Regions from separate parts of the Homo sapiens genome. Here all the other regions are linked to region 1. The links are contacts of gene promoters, found by promoter capture Hi-C in human tissues and cell types (Jung and others, 2019). All regions are on one chromosome and are shown on one strand. The core of a region is centred on a gene start or on the middle of the fragment in contact, and the rest is flanking DNA. Distances in the headings are between cores, read along the strand shown.

Region 1 (3,611 bases), core at 1,053-3,552:
TTTGGGGGGTGCCAGCTGAGGACCAGGCAACCCCCACCCCCTTAGGTAACAGAACTCAGCGTCCTGGGGCCAATCCCACTTATTCACCCTGTTGGTCTCACTGGTTGGCCAAGGGGTGGGACCAGAGTTCTTCCCAGGGAGTCCTGCTTCTCTGGAGGAAGGAGGGAGCCCAGAGCTGCCCGAGGTCATGTGATGACCTCTTCCAGGGAGGGGCAGAGATGAGGGAAGGGAGGGGAGCCCCGGCCCTAGGCCCAGGCAGCTATTGGCTATTTCCCTCATCCCTTCCTGAGGACCCCTTAGCATCCTCCTCCCCCTCCCCATCGGCTCAGCCTGAGGGAGTGGGCTCCTGGCTCTTCCACGGAGAGGTTTACCTTCCCTGACTTGCTGTGGGGCACTCAGGCGGGCTCATCCCAGATTTCGGAGGAGCCAACAGGTACGGAGCCCCTCCTCTGGTGGTTCCTACCCACGCTAGACCATTCCCCCTGCAGTGTCCAGGCACAGAAACAGCCCCATATACGCCTTGTATGGTCAAGAAAGCGGCTCCTGGAGGTGGTCTGCCCTGGGAGGAAAGGGCTTCACTTTCCCCTCCTTTGCACACCTGAACACGGAGCTGTCAGAGGAGGCTGAGTGAGGTGGCGGCCAGACAGACAGCGCCAGCCACGGAAGGGGAGGTGGGCACCGTGCCAGGCACCCGGCATCCTCAGTCCAGACTGACAGCTCTCAGACAGGCATTGGTCCTGGCGAACCTTCCCCTTCAAGTGGAAGCTGGGGGGTCAGCAGTCATGGGCATCCTCCCTGGTTAGGAGCCGGCTTCCCTGCACTCTAGCTGTCCTAGCCGAAGAGTGAAGCCCTGTCCAAATCATGGCGAGGCTGCAAGACAGGCACACACTACTGCCTCCTGGGAGCCCAGGGGAGACTGAAATACACCAAGGCAAGGAGCGTGGGTGGGCCCAGGACAGGCCGGCCTGAGCACCAGCCCAGGAATGCTGGTGGGCATGTGCCCCTCTTCCCTCCCACCCATGTGTGCACACATTTGTGCCATATACTACCGTTCCCATGTTTGCGCCTGGGCACACACTTGTGCCAGCATACACACACTTGTGCACTTGCACCTGGTGTCCAGGAACACTCCCTCAGCTCACAGACGTGCGCTGTGTGCACACAGTACCACGCAGTGTCCACGAGCACACTTTTGTGTTCGTGTTCACAGAACCCGTGTGCGCACACATGCACAGTCCTGGGCTGCAGAGAACCCCAGCCAGCGGGGCGGTGGGGGAAGGGGAGGGCACGCCTCCTTCCCAGGAGCTCAGCAAGGCTGTCCGCGGGAGCCCAGGGCTGCCCGCAGGGCTTTGGCGTAGGCCTCGCAAGCACAGCAAGCATCACAGAGTGAGGGCGGCGGGAGAACCTCCGCTTGCCGGAGAAGGTGCAGCGGACTCATCACTCTTGCTCTCCTGCCTTGGGTGTGACTCTTGGTTCACCTCTGGGGAAACAGGCTGAAAGGTGACCCTGGCGGCCCAAGGACACACACCCATTGTCCGCAGGTTCCTCCCAGGTGTCTTCTCCAGCAGGTCACCGGGAGAGCGAGGGGCTGGAGTCTTTCGGGAGCTCAGTGCCCGCAGGCAGAGCAGGGAAAGGGAGGCGCCCCAGGCCCCTGCGGAAGGAGGTCCCAGGAGGGTCTCCGCAAGGGGCTCCCTACTCTGCACTTCAGCTCCTCCAGGGAGGGGCTGCGACCTCGGGCAAAGGTCCCTCAGATGTCTTGAGACTCAGTTTCCTCGTTGGTGACACTGGGAGTCCGGAGTCCCCGCGGGGCCTGCCAGCCCCCGGCCGAGCACGGCCCCACGCGGAGCCCGTGCAGCCTGACTTGGGGCCCAACGCCCGTCCCCGCAGCGCGAGACGCGCAGGTGCCCGGCCCTGCCCTGGCCGAGACCCGCCGCCTGCGCAGCCCCGCAGAAGCTCCAGCTTTGGCCCGTGTGAGGTCCGGGCTCGGCCTGGGCTGGGCGGAGCCCGCTCCCGAAGCGCCTCAGCGCCGGGCCGCCGCCCTCCACGTGACCTCCACCTTCGCCGTCATCCCCATATGCAAAACGGGGAAACGGGGAAACGGAGGCCCACCACCAGGCAAGTGAGGACAGCCGACTCGCGCGCGCACCCGCAGAGGCCTCTTGGCCCAGCCGACCGCCGTCCGCGCCGCTTCCGGCTCCGCGCCGGGGCCTCTGGGGCGGGTAGTCCCCGCGCGCGTCCGGGACCGGCGGCCATTGGCTGGTGCGGGAGGGGGCGCGCACGCCGGCGGCGGGAGGGGCCGTCACGTGATGTTTGGGTGCCCGCCCCGCCCGCCTCGCCCGCCGTGAGCGCCCGGAGCGGTCCGCGAGCCACCGAGGCCCAGGTGAGGCGGCGGCGGTGGGGCTGGGGCCTGGCCGGGGCCGGGCGTGGGGCGGCGAGGGCGAGGCGGCCGGGGACCAGCGCGGGGCCCGGAGCCCGGCGGGGGCCGCGGCGTGGCGTGGTATGGGGCTTGCGGGAGGCCGGGCGGGGGGCGGGGCCGCGCCGGTGGGGAGGGGAGGGGGCGGGACCGTGCCGGGGGTGGACCCCAGGGGCGCCAGGGACCCTGAGCCGCAGCCCCGCGAGAGCGCCGCATTTCGGGGACCGGCCCGCGGGCACATGAGCCCCTCGGCGGGTCCTCGCGCGCTGTTCAGACCCCAGGTCGGTGGGCTCTGGGCCGGGCAGCCGGTGCCTGCGCCTGGAGGTCAGTGCCGTCCCGGGGAGCGCCCCAGCGCCTACTTGCTGGGTGCAAGGGTTGGTGCCCTGCAGCTCAACGAGCGGAGCCCGCCTTCGAGCCTGAGCTGGGGACCCCGTTCCTGTGTGCTTGCCTCTCCATGCCTTTCTGTCCCTTCTCCAAGTTGTAAGAAGGTGCTTCCTGGGTACTGGGGCCTGCGACATCCCCACCAGGGACTTTCAGGTGATGTTGATCTGTGCTGCCCCCGCAGAAACTCTCCAGGGACCTCGTGTTTGTTGCCTCATGGCGCACTCCTCCTGCTCTGGAAGCTCTGCCATGTCCAGTGTGGTAGCCCCTAGGCATGTGTGGCTGTTTACATTGTCCTTAACGTGAAGGATTCAGGTCCTCCGTGCCAGTGGTCACATGTCCGACACTCAGTAGCCACACGTGTCTGGTGGCGGCTGTGTGGGGCAGCGCGGGTAGGGAACACTGCTTATCACAGGAAGTTCTGTGAGCGGTGTGGTGCGGCTCAAAATGGGCCTCGCGCGTGCTGCTCCGCCGGTGCTTCTCCGCCCCTCATCCTGCCAGGTGCCTTTCCAGCCACACCTGGCGCCCTTTCTTTCCTCTGCTGCACACTTGCCTCTTCTTTTAGTTCCTGGCTCGCTCCTGGCTTGGGGGCAGCTCCGCTTCCGGTATGTCTGAGCTCACCTTTCTGACCGCTCTCCCTACAGTATTTCTTGTTTGTCATTGTCACTCATCTGCTTGTTTTCTGTTTTATCTTTAGTGCCTGTGAGACAGGGGTGGGGATTGTTGCTTAGGATACTCCCAGTGTGGACACAGTATTGAGTTGAAAGAAAGCTGAAGTTTGTTAGTACTGGAGTGCTTCCCCCGACTGAACCGCTGC
Region 2 (3,571 bases), core at 791-3,290, 630 kb after region 1:
GCTCTAACAACCCACACCAGCCCTGACAAGGACACTCATGACAACCGCACCCACCCACCAACCACTATTATTTATTTAACAGGTGTTCCTTCATGGCAAGCACTATGCTGTGTGTTGTAAGCATACGTCTAAGTTCATTTTCTGTTGCAATAACAGAATCCCTGAGACTGGGTAATTTTTTTAAAAATGAACTTTTTTTGGCTCGGGTTCTGGATGCCGGGAAGTCCAAGGGCAGGGCAGCAGCTTCTAGACAGGCTTTCACACTGTCTTCAAACACAGCAGGAAAGTGGGAGGGGAAGCAAGTGCGCGTGACAGAGACCACAAGAGTCAGCCCAGCTTGCTCGCAGAACAACCTGCTCTCGTGAGAACTCACCCCGAGATAAAGGCTCTAATCCACTCACAAGGCCTCTGCCCTCATGCCCAGGTCAACTCATAAAGGCCCACCTCTCTATACTGTTATTTTGGCAATTAAGCTTCCAGCACATGGAGGTTTGGGGACATGTTTGGACTGTGGTCGGGCTTAGCCACTTTGCCCTCAGGACAGTCCTGGATGGTGGGTCCATTATTGTCCCCGCTTTACAACAAGGAGCCTGGGGCACGATCAAGTGAGATGACCAAGGTCACAGGAGCCCAGTCCCCCGAGCCCATGCCAGGCCTGCTCTCCACCTGGGGAATGCACCCCTCCTAGGCCTCTGCTCCTTACATGTGGGAGGAGAGGGGATGAAGGCTCTACCTGAGGGGTCACTGCAGTGCAGTGGGCAGGGGCATCTCGGCCATGCATGGAGGAGGGTTGGCACCCACAGTGCAGGAGGCAGGGAGCATCTCACATCGACCAGGCTGGGTGCAGGCCCAGCGACAGGCACTGCCTTGGTGCCGCATCCAGCCTCCTCCTCCTGGTTCCACTTCTCCACCATCGTCACCACCACCACAGCCTCCACCTTCTCAGGCAGCCAAATGAACCAGTTTCAATGTGGGTTTCACATCTCTCAATGAAAATCCGTTCTTCCTTCAGTGAAAGTGCCTAAAATGCCACCACTAAGTAAAATCTGAATCATAAGTCAGCATTATAAAATATTAGATCAGATTTTATATTCATCCAGGGCAAGTTTCATTCTTCCCAGGTCTCCTGCAGAAATGGACATTCCATGGTCAGCTCTGGCCTCTCCAGACATCAGCTCACGGACCCTGGGGCCTCCCAATCCCCCAAGGGCTCAGCCACCTGCTGAGAGCCAGAGGGGTGCTGCCAGGGGAGAAGACACACACAAGCACTTCTAACTTCAGTTCTTCCCATCACCGTGCTTTTCACCACGTCACTGTCACATGGCACTGAAGAAACGCCCCAGAAAAGGGACCCCAAAGACCCAGGCAATATCCATCACTCATTATTTGTACAACTTCAGAAACACAATGTCTTCCTTTTGGCCTCATTTTCTTATTCATTTACTCATTCATCAAATACTGTGTGGAGCTCTGTGCACTTTTCTGGGCAAAGAGCTGCCAGGAAACAAGACAGACGTGGTTCCCGCCTCATGGAGCACATCTGTCTGCAGGGTTTAGGCGGCTTTTGCTGCAGACAATGAATCTCATGCCTCACTGGTTCCTAATGGCCGGCATTTGCTTCTAAGCACAGGAGTCTGCGGGTCTCACCTGGGCCCAGCCAGGCACGCCCAGGCCTCCGGGGCCTGGTTCTGGGCTCAGGCTGATGAGGCAGTAGCCAGCAGGGCTTGCTGGCCTTGCAGTGGAGGGCAGAGCAGCAGAGGGGTGAGAGGAAATGAACAGTGTCCCCAAAGTGGCCCTGACCCACTTCCACCACGTCCTATTGGCCGAGCCATGTTTCACATCCAAGCCCAGCACCCGTGGGCAGGGCCGTGCCCTCCACTCGCAGTGGGGGCTCTGTCAACTCACTCGGTAGAGGGCATAGATGTAAAATTTCAGCCCAGGGAGGGGGCAGAGAGCCCTCTTCCCATCTACTCCAGTGGAAGCAAAACAAAAGTGTGTAGAAAGGCCAGGTTGTGAGAGACGCTAAGATAGGGAAGCAGGAGCTGAGGAGGAGTGAGGGGTCCATGTAGGTCCAAGGGGCCCGAGGGGTCCGAATACCCCGCCCCAGCTCCCTTCCAGGGACTCACTGTTCCCCAAACCTGTGCCACGCAGCATCGTCTACTGCCTCTGAGCTGCAGACGTCACTGGGAGGGCCCCTTTAAATTTTCATCCACTCAGACCAAGAGGACGGGAAACACACACCACAGTGATCAGGGCCCGCTCCGTGCCTGGCTCGGGGCCAACGGCACTTTCGGTGTCGTTTCGTTACAGCCGCACAACCTCGGTGCCACCCCTTTCCACTCAGCTGATTGGAAAGCTGAGTTGAGGAGAGGACGACAGCTGCTCACAGACATCGAGAGGAGCAGAGCGGTCCCCGGCCTTCAGACACACAAGCCAGGCTGTGCCCTCGTGGGGCCAGGGCAGTCAAGGCTGTGATTCTGGGGTTCACCCCCCAGATGAGAGAGCCGCCACTCCCCCAGAGGGAAGCTGAGGCTCGGTGGGGAAGGGACCAGCTCTGATCCAACAGGGTCACCAGGATCCCAGCCCGGGTCCAGGAAGGGCAGACAGGACTGGGTCTGCAGAATTCAGAACCCCCCCTTCCCATTAATTCACGCTCCTCCGAGGATCCCTACCAGGCCAACTTCCAGCCATGCTGGCCGTGCTGAACTCTCCCACCTGAGCTGGAAGAAGGCTCAAGCGGTTGCCACGACCCTTCGTCTTTGAGAGGGGTCTAAACAAACACACAGCCGCCTGCCTTTCTTCAAAATGAAATTGAGTTTTATATGTCAGCATTTGGCCAGGAAGGAAAAAATAAATGCCACTGAAGGCCAAGCTGTCTTGCCCACGTTGTGATCATTTACCAGAGCTTAAATGCAGCAGTTAGCACGGAGTGAAATAAGAGAGCCCCGGGAGGAGATAAGACCCAGCATCTCACAATGGCTTCCAAGAGCAACTGGATGTCACAGTTGCCAAGGAGTTTGGGACACTCTGGACAGGAGAATTGTTGTTTTCCTTGGCAGAAAAATGAGCCTTCCACACACAGCTAAATACCACTAGCTTTGCTTCACCGCTGTGTGGCTGCTTTGCAGCAAATCCCCCTGGCAGGCTGGTTCCCTCTCTCTGAGCCATTTCCCTCCACCCCTGGCCTCTCAGCAAGGGCCTCAGGCTGCACGGAACACTCCTTCCCCAGGGAAGTGTGGGCCACCAAGCCAGCCTGCCTGCCCTGCATGCGGGGCCGGGATCTGGCTGCCTCTGTTCCTTCCTGATCTTCATCCTCTGCTTCCCGATGGGGTCTCCTCTTGGGCACATGCAGGCATTTGCCTGGGTCCTCACCCTGAAGTCCTCCCCTGGTCGCCTGGGGACAATTGTCTTGCCTGCCGCTAAAGATGACACAGAAGAAATCCACTGGACAGAAAGATGGTGTTTGTGTGTGGATTTTGGCTTTGAAGTCCAGTCATCATCTGACTGGCCCCCCGTGCAGAGGCCCAAGGAACTTCTCCATCTGGATTATGCTAAAAAGTGTCCAAGGTCC
Region 3 (3,690 bases), core at 281-2,780, 640 kb after region 1:
GCGGCAGCCCAGGGGCCGGGGCCGCGAGGGTCTGCAGCGAGGACAGAGGACAGAGGACAACTCGGGCACCGTCTGACCACTCCAAGCTGACCACCGCCGGGTGGGGACTGCTCCTGCTTTGGATCACTGTGATGCTCTCACACCCCGAGGGGGTCTCGGCGCCGCGTTCTCTGTTCCGTGGACTAGCTGGGCTGCCCATCATCCCCGCCGGGGGCGACCCTCTGCCCTATCTGGCAGAGACCTGGTCCCTGGGAGCGTCTGTGGCACTGAGGAGTATATCCAAACACCTTCCATGGCCTGCGAAGCCCAGAATTACTCAGGGGCCACCCCCAACTCTGGCCTTCTCTCCTGTCCACCCTGTGGCAGCCTCAGCCTCATACCAACACCACCCCTGCCCCTTCCTCACCTCTCCCAAGGAGCGCGGCTCTGTACCAGCAGCCTTCCCTGCCCGCTGCCACCATGCTTAGTCCTCCTGGCTTGGTCCTCCCAGGCAGCACTGGCCCTCACCCAAAACTCAATAAAGAGAGCCTTTTGCCACCTATGTTGTTTGGACCCCGCCTTAAATGTAAGTTCCATGAAGCAGGAGTGAGTGCACAGCTGGGCTCCTCTGCCGTGACATCCCCAGGGGACAGTGAATACGAGGAACAAGTCTGGCCACAGGACACTCAGAACTCTTTGATGAATGCGTGAATGAATGAATGAGCGACTGAATGAATGAATGAATGAATGAGTGAAACTCCCCTGACCTACCCTTCCCAAATCTGGGCCAATTTCTCATTAAGAATTTCCTGAACTTGGAAAGGAATGTTTTAGATGATGGATGAGGATGAGGAAGAAGAGAGTCCTCTAGAGTTTCCCAGGAGGAGGAGGCTGGAACCAAAAGGCGGAGGTGGGAGAGGTGGAGAAGGGCCCTGCGGTGGGGTGGAATGTGATGGGATGAGCCTCAGGAGCTGCTGGAGGCCCACGTGTGGGAAGCGGCTGGCAGTGGAGGTGCCTTGCGGCCGGGCCGTGGTGGAGGGCATGCCTCGGAGCGGGTGGCAGTGGCGGGGAAGCTGCAGAGGAAAAGAGGGAAGGAAAAGAACATGAGCAAGTCTCTCTCAACACCAGGGTCAGGCTGATGGCTTATCCCACATCCACTCTCTGACTGCACACCGTCCAGGGGACCCGGTGTTATCCCCCCTCAGCGGAGGAGGAAGCAGAGCCCCGTTTGCCCTGTAAGTGGCAGAGCCCAGGCCCGATGGACGTCAAGCCTTCCTCTTTCTCTAAATAATGGGGTGGCCTTGGGATGGGGCTGGGGTCTGGTCTGGAGCCTGCAAGCCCCAGCTCTCTCAGCCCTGCCCCCGCTCACCCCTGCCCCGGCCCTCACATAGAAGCCGTCAACACTCTTAGCCGAGCCAGGCGTCCCCAGAGCCTGGTCATCCTGATGCCGCCTATGCGCTGGTCATGATGGTGGCCTGGGTAACCAAGGTAACATTGACCTGTGCCCCAGGAATTTCCCAGAGGGCCAGCATGGAGCAGGGCCCGACAGAAGTGCTGCTCAGAGCCTTGGCGTGCTGTCCAAATGCCAAACGCTTATTAATCTCCCAGCGCAAGGCTCCCTGAAGTGATTGCCCCCGCCTCCTCCATCTCCTTTGTCTAGGGCATAATTGTCCAGACCCTACCTCTCCAATTCCTTAATTAATTGCTTTGAGGAAGGCAGCATGGCTGTTAACTCCTTCCCGTCTGCACCTCATCTCCAAGGAAAGTGACAGGTGCTGGAAGGGGACTTTGCACGTAACCTAGACTGGGGTCAGGACCCCAGGCTCTGGACCCCTCCACTGCCCCTCGCTGCAACCCTCAGTTCCCCGTTTCTGAAATGCAGATAAAGCCCCTGCCCTGGCTGTAGTTAATTCATCTGCTCTGTTTAATTCAACTCCAAATCTCTTGACAAGGATTAGAACCATTCAAGCGTATCTATCACACTAGTCAGCTTGCGGGAAGGCCTGTTACAGAGATGAATAAATTGGAGGAGGAGGTGCAGGGGAGGGAGAGCTGAGGAGGGGAGAGGCCTTCCACAGGTGCAGGCATGACAGGTGCATCCCCGGCCGGAGCATGGGGGCTCTCCACACAGGGCAGGAACCCAGGGGACCTGAAGGAAAGGGAAGATGGCAGGAGCCGTCAGCAGCCACGGCTTACTGATGACAGCCACAGCCACCACATGTGCAGCGCCCACTCAGTGTGCGCCAGGCACTGCCCTGAGCTTGGGGGTCTAGCCCAGCAGCCTCCTGCACGTACCGCATGTGATGTGGGAGCCAGAGACGGGACTGGGAACTGGGGCCTTGTGCCCAGAGGCAGCTGCAGCTTTTAAAAGGCCTCTAGGGTCAGAGGTCATGATGAGGATGGAGTGCTCAAGAGTCCAATGATCTTTCTCTCTTTCTCTCCCCGGCACGTGCATCCCTTTGAATGAATGTTTATTGAAGGAGACATGTGCCTCTTGTCATGAGGAGCTCGCCTTGCAGCTGGAAGCTCCTGGAGTTTCTAAAATGCCTGCCACCTCCTTTGAGCCTCCTAGTAACCAGAGGGCTAGGCAAGGTGGTCAGGACGAACCCCCTTATACAGATGGTAATGCCAAGGCCAGAGGACAAGCCCAGCTCTGCCGGTGCTCACTGGCAGATAGAAAAAGGGTAATGAGATGGGGCTCTGGGCTGCCAGATGGTTCTGGAAACAGGAGGAGGTCAGGAAAGCAAGGAAAGGCTGGCAGTGAAGGGCTGTGAGGTGAGCCAGGCAGATGAGAGCCAGGCCTGGGTTCCAGCCTTGCTAGAGGCCATGCCAGGACCTTCACCTTCCTCAGGCCCAGTAGCCGAGGTGTGAGAGGTGCCCACAGAGCTTTCCCCTCGGGGCTGGGAACAGTGAGGTGAGTGAGACAGGTGTCTGCCTACAAAGGAGGTGCCAGAAAACTCAGTGATCCAGACGAATACTATTCCAATGCATTTTTGGAAACAAAATTATTTTTTTAAACTCCAAGGTGAACAAAATATCAAATTGTTATAAGGATAGGATCCCGCAGGGCCGAGACTCTGGTGAGGTAAACGCAGAACCCTCAGCGACCAATAGGAGTGATAATTTCATGCAGTGTTTCCAATGCATCAGGACCTGAATATCAACTTTTTTTTGGATTTTTTCATGAATTTTAATGGACAACTAAAAAGTGTATGTGTTTATGGTATACAGCATGATGCTTTGAAATATGAGTGCACCATGGAATGGCTAGCTGGGGCCCAGGAACACATGCATTCCCTGGAGGGCTACTATGTTTTGTGAGAACACTTAAAATCTTCTCCCTCAGAGATATTCGAGAGTATAACACATTTCAATAACCACATTTCCAGCGAAGACAGGACTCCACCCTGTGCTTACACAACTCACCTCAGCTGCCTTATGCTACCCCCAGCCTTGACGGAGGCTATCTTGATCTTAAATTTTGTTATTTTGCTTCTTCTGAATGTGTTTGCGTTAATTTGGATTTTTTAAGTGTGGTGTTAAAATAGCATTTGTCTTGGTTATCGAGTGTTTGGATCTCAACCCAGCCCAGCCCTGCCCGATTCCTGCCCCAAGCCCTCCCCTCCCCATGGTGCTGCTGAGAAGCTGGGAGTGCAGAGCCTGAACCGGGACTCCTCCCAAGGCATCCCTGACCCATGGGTGCCCTCAGCC

The links. Contacts are between HindIII fragments. The study calls those that stand out against the background at their distance.
Region 2: a fragment that was not itself captured here is called in contact with the fragment with the promoter of TSNARE1 in region 1 in 4 of the 25 tissues and cell types used here (IMR-90 fibroblasts, dorsolateral prefrontal cortex, mesenchymal stem cells and 1 more).
Region 3: a fragment that was not itself captured here is called in contact with the fragment with the promoter of TSNARE1 in region 1 in 2 of the 25 tissues and cell types used here (dorsolateral prefrontal cortex and lymphoblastoid cells).

Annotation. Positions count from the first base shown.
Region 1 is chr8:142,401,873-142,405,483 of GRCh38, reverse strand. It overlaps TSNARE1 (t-SNARE domain containing 1), which reads left to right and starts at 2,302. Exons shown (of 14, transcript NM_145003.5): 1 at 2,302-2,380. RefSeq lists silencers at 1,404-1,453, 1,894-2,463, 2,604-2,743 and an enhancer at 1,397-2,172. The HindIII fragment of the contact is 11,624 bases long and covers 1-3,611 here.
Region 2 is chr8:141,775,285-141,778,855 of GRCh38, reverse strand. No RefSeq gene overlaps it. Among named protein-coding and RNA genes, the nearest start is that of MIR1302-7, 9.2 kb to the left of the region's middle. The HindIII fragment of the contact is 7,354 bases long and covers 1-3,571 here.
Region 3 is chr8:141,757,078-141,760,767 of GRCh38, reverse strand. No RefSeq gene overlaps it. Among named protein-coding and RNA genes, the nearest start is that of MIR1302-7, 27 kb to the left of the region's middle. The HindIII fragment of the contact is 7,477 bases long and covers 1-3,690 here.